2 separate regions of the Homo sapiens genome follow, and region 1 is linked to region 2. Evidence: promoter capture Hi-C in human tissues and cell types (Jung and others, 2019). All regions are on one chromosome and are shown on one strand. The core of a region is centred on a gene start or on the middle of the fragment in contact, and the rest is flanking DNA. Distances in the headings are between cores, read along the strand shown. Region 1 overlaps GBX1 (gastrulation brain homeobox 1). Region 2 holds the start of KCNH2 (potassium voltage-gated channel subfamily H member 2).

Region 1 (5,781 bases), core at 1,082-3,581, 170 kb before region 2:
TCACAGGCGCACGCCAACACCCCTGGCTAATTTTTGTATTTTTAGTAGAGACAGGGTTTCACCATGTTGGCCAGGCTGGTGGTGAACTCCTGACCTCAGGTGATCCACCCACCTCAGTCTCCCAAAGTGCTGGGATTACAGGCATGAACCACCATGCCCAGCCAGAAATTTACTTTTATGAACATTGTATCTACCAAGTCCAGTTATTCTAAATCAAATTTTGCAAATAGAAATTTTATCAACAAGATTTGCTTCTTGCCAGCCATGGTGGCTCACACCTGTAATCCCAGCACTTTGGGAAGCCGAGGTGGGAGGTTTGCTTGAGTCCAGAAGTTTGAGACCAGCCTGGGCAACATAGTAGGACCCCAACACTGCAAAAAAGTAAAAAAAATAAAAATAAAAAAGTTAGCCAGCCATGGTGGTGTGCGCCTATGGCCCAGCTACTTGGGAGGCTGAGGCAGGAGGATCACTTGAGACCAGGAGTTCAAGGCTGCGGTGAGCTATGATTACTCTACTGCATTCCAGTCTGGGTGACAGAGCGAGCGCCTGTCTCAGGAAAAAAAAAAAAAGATTTGCTTCTTTCAATTTTTAGTCAATAGCAAATTTTTATGTGCAATTTTTATTTTTTACTATTAATATTCATTATAAATTGGATAAAAGGAAATATTTTTATTTCTTAGCTAATTCCAGAGAAAATAGTTAGCTGTTTTGAAATTTCCACATTGTAAAGGATTGCACTACTGTTTTGCTCATTCTCTTTCTCTGCCTGTGTCTTTGGCTACTGCAGTCTACAGTGCTCCTTCTCTTGGGGCAGCAGAGAGCAAATGGCAGGGCCAAAATGTTTTGCTTTGCTTCAAATGTATCAGTATTCTGGGGGGAAAGGTAGATGAGGCATTTCTTAAAAAGTACCTTTTGCTTTCTTTCCCCTGATTTTTCCCATATTTTCTCTCTCCCTTCTCTAGACTTTTCAGCCCTTTTATTTTATCTGACTCATCATTTAATTTTTCTGCTATTTCTCTACCCCACTTCTTTCCTTCCCCAGTCTTCTTTCCACCTGCCTTGGCCTTTCCTTCTCTCTCCCACTCCTTGTCGGTCTTCCTCATTGTCCCAGACTCTCCTCTGAGGCATGTGGCTGTATTTTCTCCTCTCGTTGCTTTCTTCTATTGTCCCACCCCATTTCATTTCAAGAGTTGCTTATCAGAGTCTTCAATGTCATGATTATAAAGGCTCAGAGAGAAACTCTTGCCCCTGCCGCTCAGCATCCCACTGGGATCAAGTAACCAAGAGAGGTTGTGAACCTGTGCTCCTTGTATGGCTTTAAAAGCAGCACTGAGGGTGGCCGGCTCATGTGGGCTTCATTTTATGGATCTGTCTGAAGACAGAGGGATGGATGATACGATCTCAGGAGGGCCCTGCCAGATCGGGAACCTGGGAGCCTCATCTCAATCATCATCAATTTAGATTTATTGGACACCCCCTGGGTGCTTGGAGTTGTACTAACTGATTTTATCCTTCAAGCCTCGAAGTCTAGTTTCTGCCTTTTTAGCACTGTTTAACATATTGTAATATTGGGCTGAGTTTGTACAAGCCTTTGTTATTCTTTTTGTTATTATTTACTACAAACTATGTTTTAAAAAATTAAAATAGAGGATTTACTAATGGTATTAGGATTGTCCTTAATTTCTTTAAGCATCCTATAGATTTTTAAGATCCTATAGATTCCTACTGCATATGAATTCCTCTCCAGCTAATGTGAGATCTGAGGGCATTCTGAAAAGTGGGAAGGATAACATTCATAGGGAGATGTCTTATGCACTGGAGCTGGGCGGGGTGGGGTTGTGGGGAATATCGTCGGAGAGGCTTAGGAAAGGAAAGGACAGGGAGGGAAAGAAAGACGGGGAGCACATGCATGAGCATTTGGAAATCGTTTCTTTTATTTAGTCAACAGATGCTTATTGAGTGTCTACTCTGTATTGAGTGTCAGGTCATTTTCAAGACACTGAAGATATTGCAGTGAATGAGAAATATTCAGAATACCTACTTTCACGAAGCTATAGTCTATTAGGAAGAGACAGCCAGTAAAATAAATGAATAAAATTGGTAAAATGGACCAAAGTAACAAATAAATCGGAGAAAGGACATAGAGAGTATCAGAGGGTTTAAATTTTAAAAGGATGACCAGGGGAGGTGTCACTGATAAAGACCTGAAAGAGGTAGGGAATAAGCTAGTGCAAGATCTAGGTGAAGAGTAGTGTATTCCAGACAGAAAGAGGAATCATGGGCCAGGTGGAGTGTGGAGGACAGAAGCTGGGAAACCAGTTAGAAGATGACAGTGAACCAGGTCAGAGATAATTGTGATGTGGACTAGTTGGAAGCGGGAGATAGGGAGAAAGGATTGGGCTCTGGGGGTATTTTAAAGGCAGCAGCACTAGCAGGGCTTGTAGATGGACTGGATGTGGGTTGTGAGAGAGAGGAGTAAAAAGATGGCATCGAGGTTAGGTTTGAACACACAGAGGATGCAGTTGCCATTAACTGAGATGGGGATGATGTGGATAAAGATGAGAAAGAGCTGGTTTGGGGGAATGATCTGATTGGAGTTCAATTTGGGGCATGTTAAGTTTGAGTTCTGTGGAAGTGGAAAATAATGGGAGAAGAGACCTTAATGAAATGAAGGAGGAAACCAAGGATGTGAATCTTAGAGAAAACAACATAGATTTGGCTAGGGGTGAGATAGAGGGGAAAGAACAGGCTGATGGGAGACATTATGAGGGGCGAATTAGCTACAGACAGGATACAGTACTTACCCAGATGGGTCTTGATGCTGGGCGCCAGTGAAGCCTGAGCAAACTAGTAAAGAAGAACAAAAGCCATTGGCTGGTGAAAAGCAATGTACAGGAGTGGCATGGGAAGACTGGGGGAGCCCAAACTGGGGCATGCCGCATGGACTTTGAGAAGGTTAGAAGAAACAGGAAGCACTCCAGAAAGAAAAGGAGAGGGATGAAAACACCTTCGAGGTATGAAGTTGATTGGGATGTAGATGGGTGATGTGGAAAAAGGTTGAGAGTTCTGGCCACTAAGGAAAATGTCAGCTGGGCGCAGTGGCTCACACCTGTAATCCTGGCACTTTGGGAGGCCAGGGCTAGAGGATTGTATGAACCCAGAAGCTCAAGGCCAGCCTGGGCAACATAGTGAGATCCTGTCTCTACAAAAAAATAAACAGAATTAACCAGGCATGGTGTGTGCCTGTGGTCACAGCTACTTGGGAGGCTGAGGGTGGAGGATCCCTTGAGCCTGGAAGGTCAAGGCTGCAGTGGGCCAAGACTGTGCACTATACTCCAGCCTTGCTGACAGAGTGAGAGTCTCACTCTGTCTCAAAAGAAAGAAAGATAGGAAAGATAGGAAAAGAAAATGTCAATGTGGCTGTTGAGGAAAAAGACCAGGTGTAGACTGCACCTGTGAGGGGGAAGGGAACTTGGCAGGGGGTGGGGCGGGGTGTGCTGAAGGAGAACACCAGGAAGCTCTGACTGCCAGGAGATGTTCTATCTGTGAACACACACACCCTCTTTCTCTAATAAAGCCTTTCCCCGTGCCCTGAATTTAGTTTACTTGGAGTTGTATTCTCAACCTCTGAGTCTGCTTATCTCAGGCATATCTGATATGTGGCCGATACAGGGAGATGCATTCCTACATATAGGTATGCAGGCCTCCTGCCTTTGCACAGTGGACACTTCTGGAAAGGAGCTGACTATTCAGCTTACAGATTATCCATTTTCTCTTGTTCTCCTGCCTATTGATTGTCTTTTGACTTGTTTCACTGCTTTTTGGTCCTTTGAGTAGAAAACGGAGTTTGTAAAACTCACTGAAAACATGTGTAATGCATTATTTGCAGTTCTGATATAAACATCATTGGATACAAAGATTAAAACCAATGGTTGAATTAAGTTTTAGAATTGTGTGGATTAAAATGTTTATATGCTTGTGATTACAAATAATCAGTATTCTACTGAATCAAAATTTCTTTTTTACCCTTTCCTTCTCTTCATTTGTCCCTGTTGCACTTTTCCCTCTTCCTCCTCCTCCTCCCATATTCCTTCCAGTCCTCCCAGCTGACATCAAGCTTAGGGGCCTCAGGATTCTGAACTTGAGCAGAAAACAGCTGTTTGTGCTGCTCAGGCATCCTTGGCTGGGGAAAGGGGAAGGTGGGAAAGAGATGGTTTCATTTTAAGGTCAAGGGTAAGGATTGAAAGGGGATCAGGAGGCCTAAGTAACTGGGAGAAAAAATCTGGCCACACTCAAGGTGCTGCATGGCTGGGAGCCATGGAAATGAGGTTCAGGGACTGCAGATCTAGGGAAGAGGGAGAGGAGGAGACAGAACAGAGGCCATGAGACAGCTCTCGTCAGCTGGGCCAGATGAGGACTCCTAGGAGAAGTGCAAAGGCTGAGCCCTTCTCTCCCCGTCTGTCCTGCCAAGGTCAGTTCTTCTGCATTGCTTCACTCCTCCCCCCAGTGGCTCCAGAAGGATCCCAAGCCGGGTCCCATACTGCTTCATTCTGGCACCTGAGGCTGCGAGGCCTGGCTCTGGAGGGGTGGTATATCACTGCGATGCTGGGCCCTTGGTCTCTAGGTTCCGAGAAAGCTGGGGAGGTGGTGGGTGCGAATGAGATGGGGGTGGTGGGGAAGTTGAGGGGTCATTGTCCACACACTTATTGCCTCCCACACTTTTCCGTAGTGAAATCTGTGCTGGTTAATACCTTTCTTCCCATTTCTTTGTTTTCCCTAAACCTCTTCCCATTCCATATCCTGGACATACCATCCTTCTGCCTCCTGTCCCTCCCCATCTTCTCCTCTCCATGGCTCTCTTTTTTCCTGCTCTTGTCTCCCAACCCCCCATTTCTGGCCATGGTTCCATGGGCCTCCTCCAAACTCTCTTTTTCTTGCTTCTCCCTCCCCATCCATTGGCTTCTTGCTCCTCACAGCAGAGGGGAAGGTGTACAGCTCAGATGAGGAGAAGCTGGAGGCATCAGCAGGAGACCCAGCAGGCAGCGAACAGGAGGAAGAGGGCTCAGGCGGTGACAGCGAGGATGACGGTTTCCTGGACAGTTCTGCAGGGGGCCCAGGGGCTCTTCTGGGACCTAAACCGAAGCTAAAGGGAAGCCTGGGGACTGGAGCTGAGGAGGGGGCACCGGTGACAGCAGGGGTCACAGCTCCTGGGGGGAAAAGCCGACGGCGCCGCACAGCATTTACCAGCGAGCAGCTTTTGGAATTGGAGAAGGAATTTCATTGCAAGAAATACCTGAGCTTGACAGAGCGCTCTCAGATCGCCCACGCCCTCAAGCTCAGTGAGGTGCAGGTCAAGATCTGGTTTCAGAATCGACGGGCCAAGTGGAAGCGCATCAAAGCTGGCAATGTGAGCAGCCGTTCTGGGGAGCCCGTAAGAAACCCCAAGATTGTTGTCCCCATACCTGTGCATGTCAACAGGTTTGCTGTGCGGAGCCAGCACCAACAAATGGAGCAGGGGGCCCGGCCCTGAATGGGCACCCAAGAACTTAGGAAGGCGAGGGATCTGTACCTGAGCCTGCTCTGAGACTGTCAGGGTTCTGTGGACCAGAGGGGCTGCAACTGTGATTCTGCCTTGAGAGGGGCTAGTTGGCAATTAACCTAGCCCTGGGTGTGCTCTTCCCAGACTCCTCCCAGAACCTGAGATGTGAGCACTTGGCCCTGAGCCTGTTCCAGAGAACTTCAGGACTAGGGGCTTCAAGGTTAAAGGGGCTGGGGTTCTAT
Region 2 (5,895 bases), core at 2,520-5,019:
GGTGCCAGCCTGCTGCTCCACTGCCACCACATCAAATTATTTTGTCCTCAGACCCAATCTCCATTCTCCTTTCTTTATATATCCTTATGTTGTCTCTTCTATCTGCAATGCTTCTGCCCTGCCCCACCTCCAACGTTCAAGGACCTGCACTGAAATCTCCTTCCCTGGCAAGGCCCTCCAAGACTCCTCCGGTTGAAATTAACCAACACCTCCTCGTAATCCCACAGCACTGACTGCAGACTGCAGTTTCTGTCTGCCCACCGTCTCCCTCAAAACTCACTAGACTGTGAATCCCTGGAGGAGGGATCCTGGCTTATCCCTCTTGTCCCCCAGCAGTGTCTGGCACAGGGCCCAGTACTTAGAAAGCCCCCAGTAAACACTTGTCGATGCAACTAGTAGCAGAACCAGAATTAGAAGTCAGATCTCCCGAATCCTAGTCTCCAGGGCCTTACTTGCTTCTTTTGACACCACAAAGGCAGGGAAAATGTCCCACCAAAGGTGGGGATCAGGTTGTCCAGAGAAGACCTTGGAATGGACCAGGGGTTGGCAGGATTGCTACATGTGGAGCTGCAGAGGGCGATGAGTGAAGAGTGTCCTGGCTCTTGGCTAGGGGTTTCAGGCGGGTTCCTTCCATCCTTTCTTCCTTCTTTCTTTCCTTCCTACTTCCCTTCTTTCTATCAATAAGCCCTGATCATCCACTTCTGGAGGGGAAACATGCTGTTTCTTTGATTCTTTTCTTCTCCAACTCCAGTTCACATCTGAAAAAAATCTCTATTCTGGGGACCCAGTTGCACAGAAAAACAAAAAAAACCCACCGTGTTCAAGCATCAAGGGACCTGCTCACTCTGTTCTTCCTTCCCCAGGGTTTCCCAGGAACCATTGCTCTGTAACCTGTCTCTCCTGTGCCCAGCCGACTGGAACTGCTTCCCAATCCCCTGTGGGTAACCCCAGGCTCTCCTGGGCCTGACTTTGGTGGTGTCTTGCCTGGCCCGCTCCTTGGGGGACCTCTGGCAGAGTGGGCTTCCATTTCTCTTTCTCCTTCCAGGATGTCCTGGCTCCATGCCTTCGGACTGAGCAGGAGCAGAGAGCAGGGTGGGTAGGATGCTTTCTGCAGACTTTTCTCCCTAAATTGTTTCTTTTTGGGAGCTGGGAGGAGCCTGGATATCTCACTGTAGCCTCTCTGTTCCCTCAGTCACAGGCAGGGTGCGGGAGAGCTCTTCCCAGGAATGGTCTCTGAAATGGCTCTTGGAGCTGAGATGGGGGTGGGGCAGATTCTAGAGGCTTAACAGCCCAGCTCTTGGTATTAGGGTTGGGCACTTTTCTCTTTGTCCCAGATCTGGGGGTAGCAGAGGTGGGAAGTTGAAGGCAGTGGGGGCTTCTCCATCAGCTCATCTGAGGCCCAGAAATGTTGCTTTGGGGAGAGCTTGCCCCCTCTCACCGTTTCTCTTCCTCAGCTCAATTCTTGAGTGTGGGGGCGGCTAAGTGGGTCTGCCTTCAGGCTCTACCCTGAGCCTCCAAGGAAGTCAGAAATCTACATTCAGCTTTGACTTCTGAGTATGTGGAGTGGGCTGGGGGGAGAGAGGGAGAGATCTGTCTCTCCTCAGCTTGAGGGAACAGCTCTCTTCTTGCCTCTGTGCACAGAAGGAGGGCTACCCCGTGCCTGGGCTCCTCTCTGTTTGGGAGGATGAAGGGCTCCTCTGACTCCTGTCTTCCCTTTGGGATAAGAGCAGAGGCCTGTCCCAGCAACACGGGTACAGGAGTGGAGGACAGCTGGCCAGCTCAGATGAGTGGCTCCTTCCCTTCAGGGCCTGGCTCTCCCTCTCCCTTGGTCTGGAGAGAGGGGGAGGCTACAGATGTCCCTTTCCCTTCTTGCCCTCCCATGCCCATTCTCAGCTGCTGGCCTTTGCTCACTTTCTCTCCATCCCCTGGCCTGGACAGGAGGACACTTCACTCACACATGAATCATCCTGGATTCATGGTAGGCAACCCAGCAGCCAGGGGTGGCCTTGGGGCGTGGCGGGGGCTGGGCCAGTCGTGGACTAGGTTCTACCCGGAACCCAGATGTGTTGATGCACCTGATGCCAAATGCTACACCAAGGAGGAGCTTGTGCTGTGGAAGGCCCTGGGCCCCCGGGGGGGTGAGTGAGGAAACTGCTGGCAGTGGAGAGGGCCTGAGGAATAACTGCACAGGCAAGAGCCTCTGGACTTTTTTAGCATCAGCTGTGGAGCCACCTCCTTCTCTCCCACTGGCTGCCTCCCTGAGTCACTGCCCACCCACCAGCAAATAAAAAAGAGTGTCATCTGCTGGCCAGTGGCCCCATTTGGCCCCAGTGTTTGCATCTTTGTGCTCCTGGGTGGAAGGTGAGAGTCCGGGTAGGGTGGTCTCACGACGACAGTTTTCTGCGCCTTCCTCCTTCGGGACTCCGATTCCTTCCCTGCCCTTTGTTCTTCCCCTCCCCCCATGATGGTTCTCGCTGGTGACAAGACCCAGCCCCTGCTCCAAGGACAGAGGCAGCTGCAAGCCCTCAGGAGCCCCCACATGGCCCCATCCATCTAGACAGGTCTCTGATCCGGCTGCAGGGAGGGGACCCTCGGCTGTTCAGCTGCGACTCCTCCCTCCCCGCCCGCCCACTCAGCTGTCAACACTCGCCTCCCCGCCCTGGCCTTCCCGGGGCCCTGCCTGACTGCTAAGTCCGAGGACACCGCGCCCGGAGACCCTCACTCAGACGCAAGCAGGCGATGAGCAGGCGGCGGGGCAGACACCCCGCCTGCCCTTGAGCATCCCTAGGCCTCCTTGCCTAAATAAGGGAGCCGCAGCTGGAGCGAGCCAGCTGGCCGGGGGGAGGGGCCTGCGGCTAGGCCAGGGCTTTCCGAGGGGCTGGGCCGTGGCCGCCGCCGCAGGGCCCCGAGCCCGCCGATTGGGCGTGCAAGGCTGGCCCCGGGCTGCCGGGGGAGGGCGGGCCGCTCGCACCCGGGGATCCCCTGGTTGGAACCTCGCGCTCAGGGACCTCTCTTTGATCCTGCAGCTAGGAGGCCGCAACTGCTGTCAGAATGTCCCTCTCTGTGCAGCTCCTATGCAGAGCCCCACAGAGGGCTCTCTCTCTCTCCGTGTGTGTGTGTGTATGTGTGTGTGTGTGTGTGTGTGTGTGTGTGTGTGTATGTGTGTGTGTGTGTGTGTGTGTGTGTGTGTGTGTGTGTTGGGGCAGGGGGCGTGCCCCTTCTAAGTTTAACCCTCCCTTATTTCAGAGCTCTGCTGCTCTGGGGCCTTCAGATTGTCTTGCTTTTCCTATTTCCAGGGTCTCCCTTGACTCCGGGCTCGTCTTCGAGGGTCCAGGCGTTGCCCCGGTCACCCACAGTAGGCACTGAGCGCGTGCTGTGTATACCAAGCCAGTGCTCGGCGTGGTGGGGAACCAGGGCATAAGGACCCGCCGTTTCCCTTCAAATCAGGTTTCTTAGTCGCTAATCTGGGGTGGGGGTGGAATCCCTTCCCCCATCCCGGCCGCCTACAAGCCGGCCATGGCACCTGTCCTCACGGTTTCCCCTGCCTAAGGGTCCCTTCCCCCTCTTCTGGGCGCGCGAGTCCCAGGGGCTCCTTGGCAGAGCGAGGGGCTGGCGTTGGGGGAGCACTCGGCGCGGCTCAGCCAATGGGAAGGTCGGGCGCGCGCGGTGGGGCGGGATGGGGGGGGGAGAGGGCGGTGCTGCGGGCGCGCGGCAGGCGGGAGGGGGCCGGGAGGCGGGGGCCGGAGCCGGAGGGGCGCGCGCCGCATTAACCCTTCCGCGGCCGGGCCGAGCCGCAGGCGCTGCCCGAGCCGCGGGCGCTGGAGCGGCTGTCGGCGCGGTGGCAGGCGGGAGCCAGGAGTCCGGGGCTCGGGCGGGCGGAGCGCAGCGCGGGGACGCGGCGGAGCGGGCCCCGCGGCTCGGCGGGGGCCGGCAGACAGGTGTGCCGGCGGCGGGCGGCTCGCGCTCAGGCGGCTCCAGGCCGGGCCCGGGGTCCGGAGCGGGGAGCCGGGAGCCGAGCGAGGACCCGGCGCCCGCAGTCCAGTCTTGGCCGCGCCCGTGCTCGGCTTGGCCGCGGGGTGCGGGGACCACGGCCCGGCCGGGCCACCCGAAGCCTAGTGCTGGGCCGGGCCGGGCCGGGGTGGGTGGGGGCCCGCCCGGCCCGCCCATGGGCTCAGGATGCCGGTGCGGAGGGGCCACGTCGCGCCGCAGAACACCTTCCTGGACACCATCATCCGCAAGTTTGAGGGCCAGAGTGAGTGGGGGAGGGGGCTGAGCGGGGAGGGGGCTCTGGGGGCGGGCCGAGCTCTTCCGAGTGTGGATGGGGGGGCGTGCCCGGGCCGTGTGCGTCGGCAAGTGCGAGTCAATGGGGCCTGGTGGGCCCCAGGCTTTGGCGAGGGGACGGCGGGGGCAAGGCTTGGTGCACCGGGGCCGTGGGCACCGGGCCAAAGGGTTTGGGGTTGGGGCTTGGGGCGGGAAACTCAGCTCAGGCTTTTGGGATCGGAGTGTGTGTGACACGCTGAGTGTGCAGGGAAGGGATGTGGGATGGAGTGTGCAGGTGTCCCCAACTCTGGGTGCGTGGACGTGGATGGGGCTGTGTGCAAGGGCATAAGAGTGTGTACGACCCAAACCCTGGGATCCCGAGAGTCCAGCGCGCACACTGGTCTTGCCAGATCTTGACTGTGTTGTGCCGGAGGGACTGAAAAGCCGTGGATGCAGGGTCAGCTCATAATCTCTTCTTGTGTGTGCCGTGTGTATATAACCCTGAGCCCATGTGTCACCCGTGAGTTAGACCCTGTATGGGCGGTGGGGAGGTGTCTTTGACAAGGCTGCGAGCTTGTGGGCTCTGTGGAGACAGGGTGTCCTGGGGCTAGAGCTGGGCTTTGAGGGTAAGCAGCTCCCTGTGGTACCCCCAAGTTGTGGGTTTTCTTGCCCTGGAGACTGTCACCTAATTCCCTTATGGGGACCGGGAGTACAGCACCCCTAATGCCTGCCTGGTAGGGAGGCTTCTAGAAGGGTCCCAGATTAGGCAAATGTCCTGGGGGTGGGCAGCATTCATGTGCCTGTCCCTAAGGCTGCATGAGCCACAGTGGGTGTGACTGCCAAGGGCCCTGGGAGTTGGGAGAGGATGACATTCCTTGTCCATGACCCTGTGAGCACAGGACAACGCGTGCTTGTAACGGTGGTTGGGGGAAGGAGGGGTCAGTCCGATGGTCAGTATTGTGTGAAGCGGAGGAACAAGATGATCCTGAGGGGGTGGAGACAATGACACTGGTTGAGGGCCTCCCTGAGAGGTGGGGGTGGGCCCAGGGGGAGGCTGTGGGCGGGCCTACGAGGAGGCTGGGATGGATGTGGGGGGGGGTGCTGGATTCTAGCCCTACCTTTGCCACTGACTGCCATGTGACCTTGAGTGACTCTTCCCTCTTTGGGTCTCAGGTTCCAGGTCTGTGGAGGAGGGGCAGGCTTTCTGTCCCATCCCTGTATTCCAGGATCTCAGTGAAGGGTGTGTGGTGGGGTGGGGCATGCCTTCGAAGAAACTTGCTCTTCTTTCCCCAGCCTGGGAGAGAGGACAAGGGGTGGTTTTTCTTCTATGAAGCTGGGGTGTGTGGCTGGGCCTCTGGACTGCCTTGGACTGTGGCAGAGCTGGAGGCCGAGTTAGGGGGTCTTTTCAGGTGACAGGAAACCCTGACTCCTGGAATTGATGGCTGCCTGGGAGGTCTGGGGGGCCTTGGGAACTGGCCAAAAGATGAACCAGTTCCAAAAGGCAACTTTCTGGGGGCCAGGGGAAGGGAGAATCGAGAAAGGTGGGAGGAGGCCAAGTCCTGATGGCCTGGGCCTATCTCAGGGTGCCCTGCTGCAGCCCAGCTTTGCACGTAGGATTGCCTAGGGCTGCAACCT

The links. Contacts are between HindIII fragments. The study calls those that stand out against the background at their distance.
Region 1: a contact is called between a fragment that was not itself captured here and the fragment with the promoter of KCNH2 in region 2, in 2 of the 25 tissues and cell types used here (H1 embryonic stem cells and spleen).

Annotation. Positions count from the first base shown.
Region 1 is chr7:151,148,338-151,154,118 of GRCh38, reverse strand. GBX1 (gastrulation brain homeobox 1) reads left to right here. Exons shown (of 2, transcript NM_001098834.3): 2 at 4,977-5,781. The coding sequence ends at 5,530. Among named protein-coding and RNA genes, the nearest start is that of GBX1, 16 kb to the left of the region's middle. The HindIII fragment of the contact is 8,938 bases long and covers 1-5,781 here.
Region 2 is chr7:150,976,195-150,982,089 of GRCh38, reverse strand. KCNH2 (potassium voltage-gated channel subfamily H member 2) reads left to right here and starts at 3,769. Exons shown (of 15, transcript NM_000238.4): 1 at 3,769-4,252. The coding sequence starts at 4,177. It overlaps LOC124901776 (a long non-coding RNA gene), which reads right to left. Exons shown (of 3, transcript XR_007060592.1): 2 at 5,379-5,554; 3 at 4,735-5,245. RefSeq lists a silencer at 2,752-3,101 and an enhancer at 5,471-5,895. The HindIII fragment of the contact is 28,056 bases long and covers 1-5,895 here.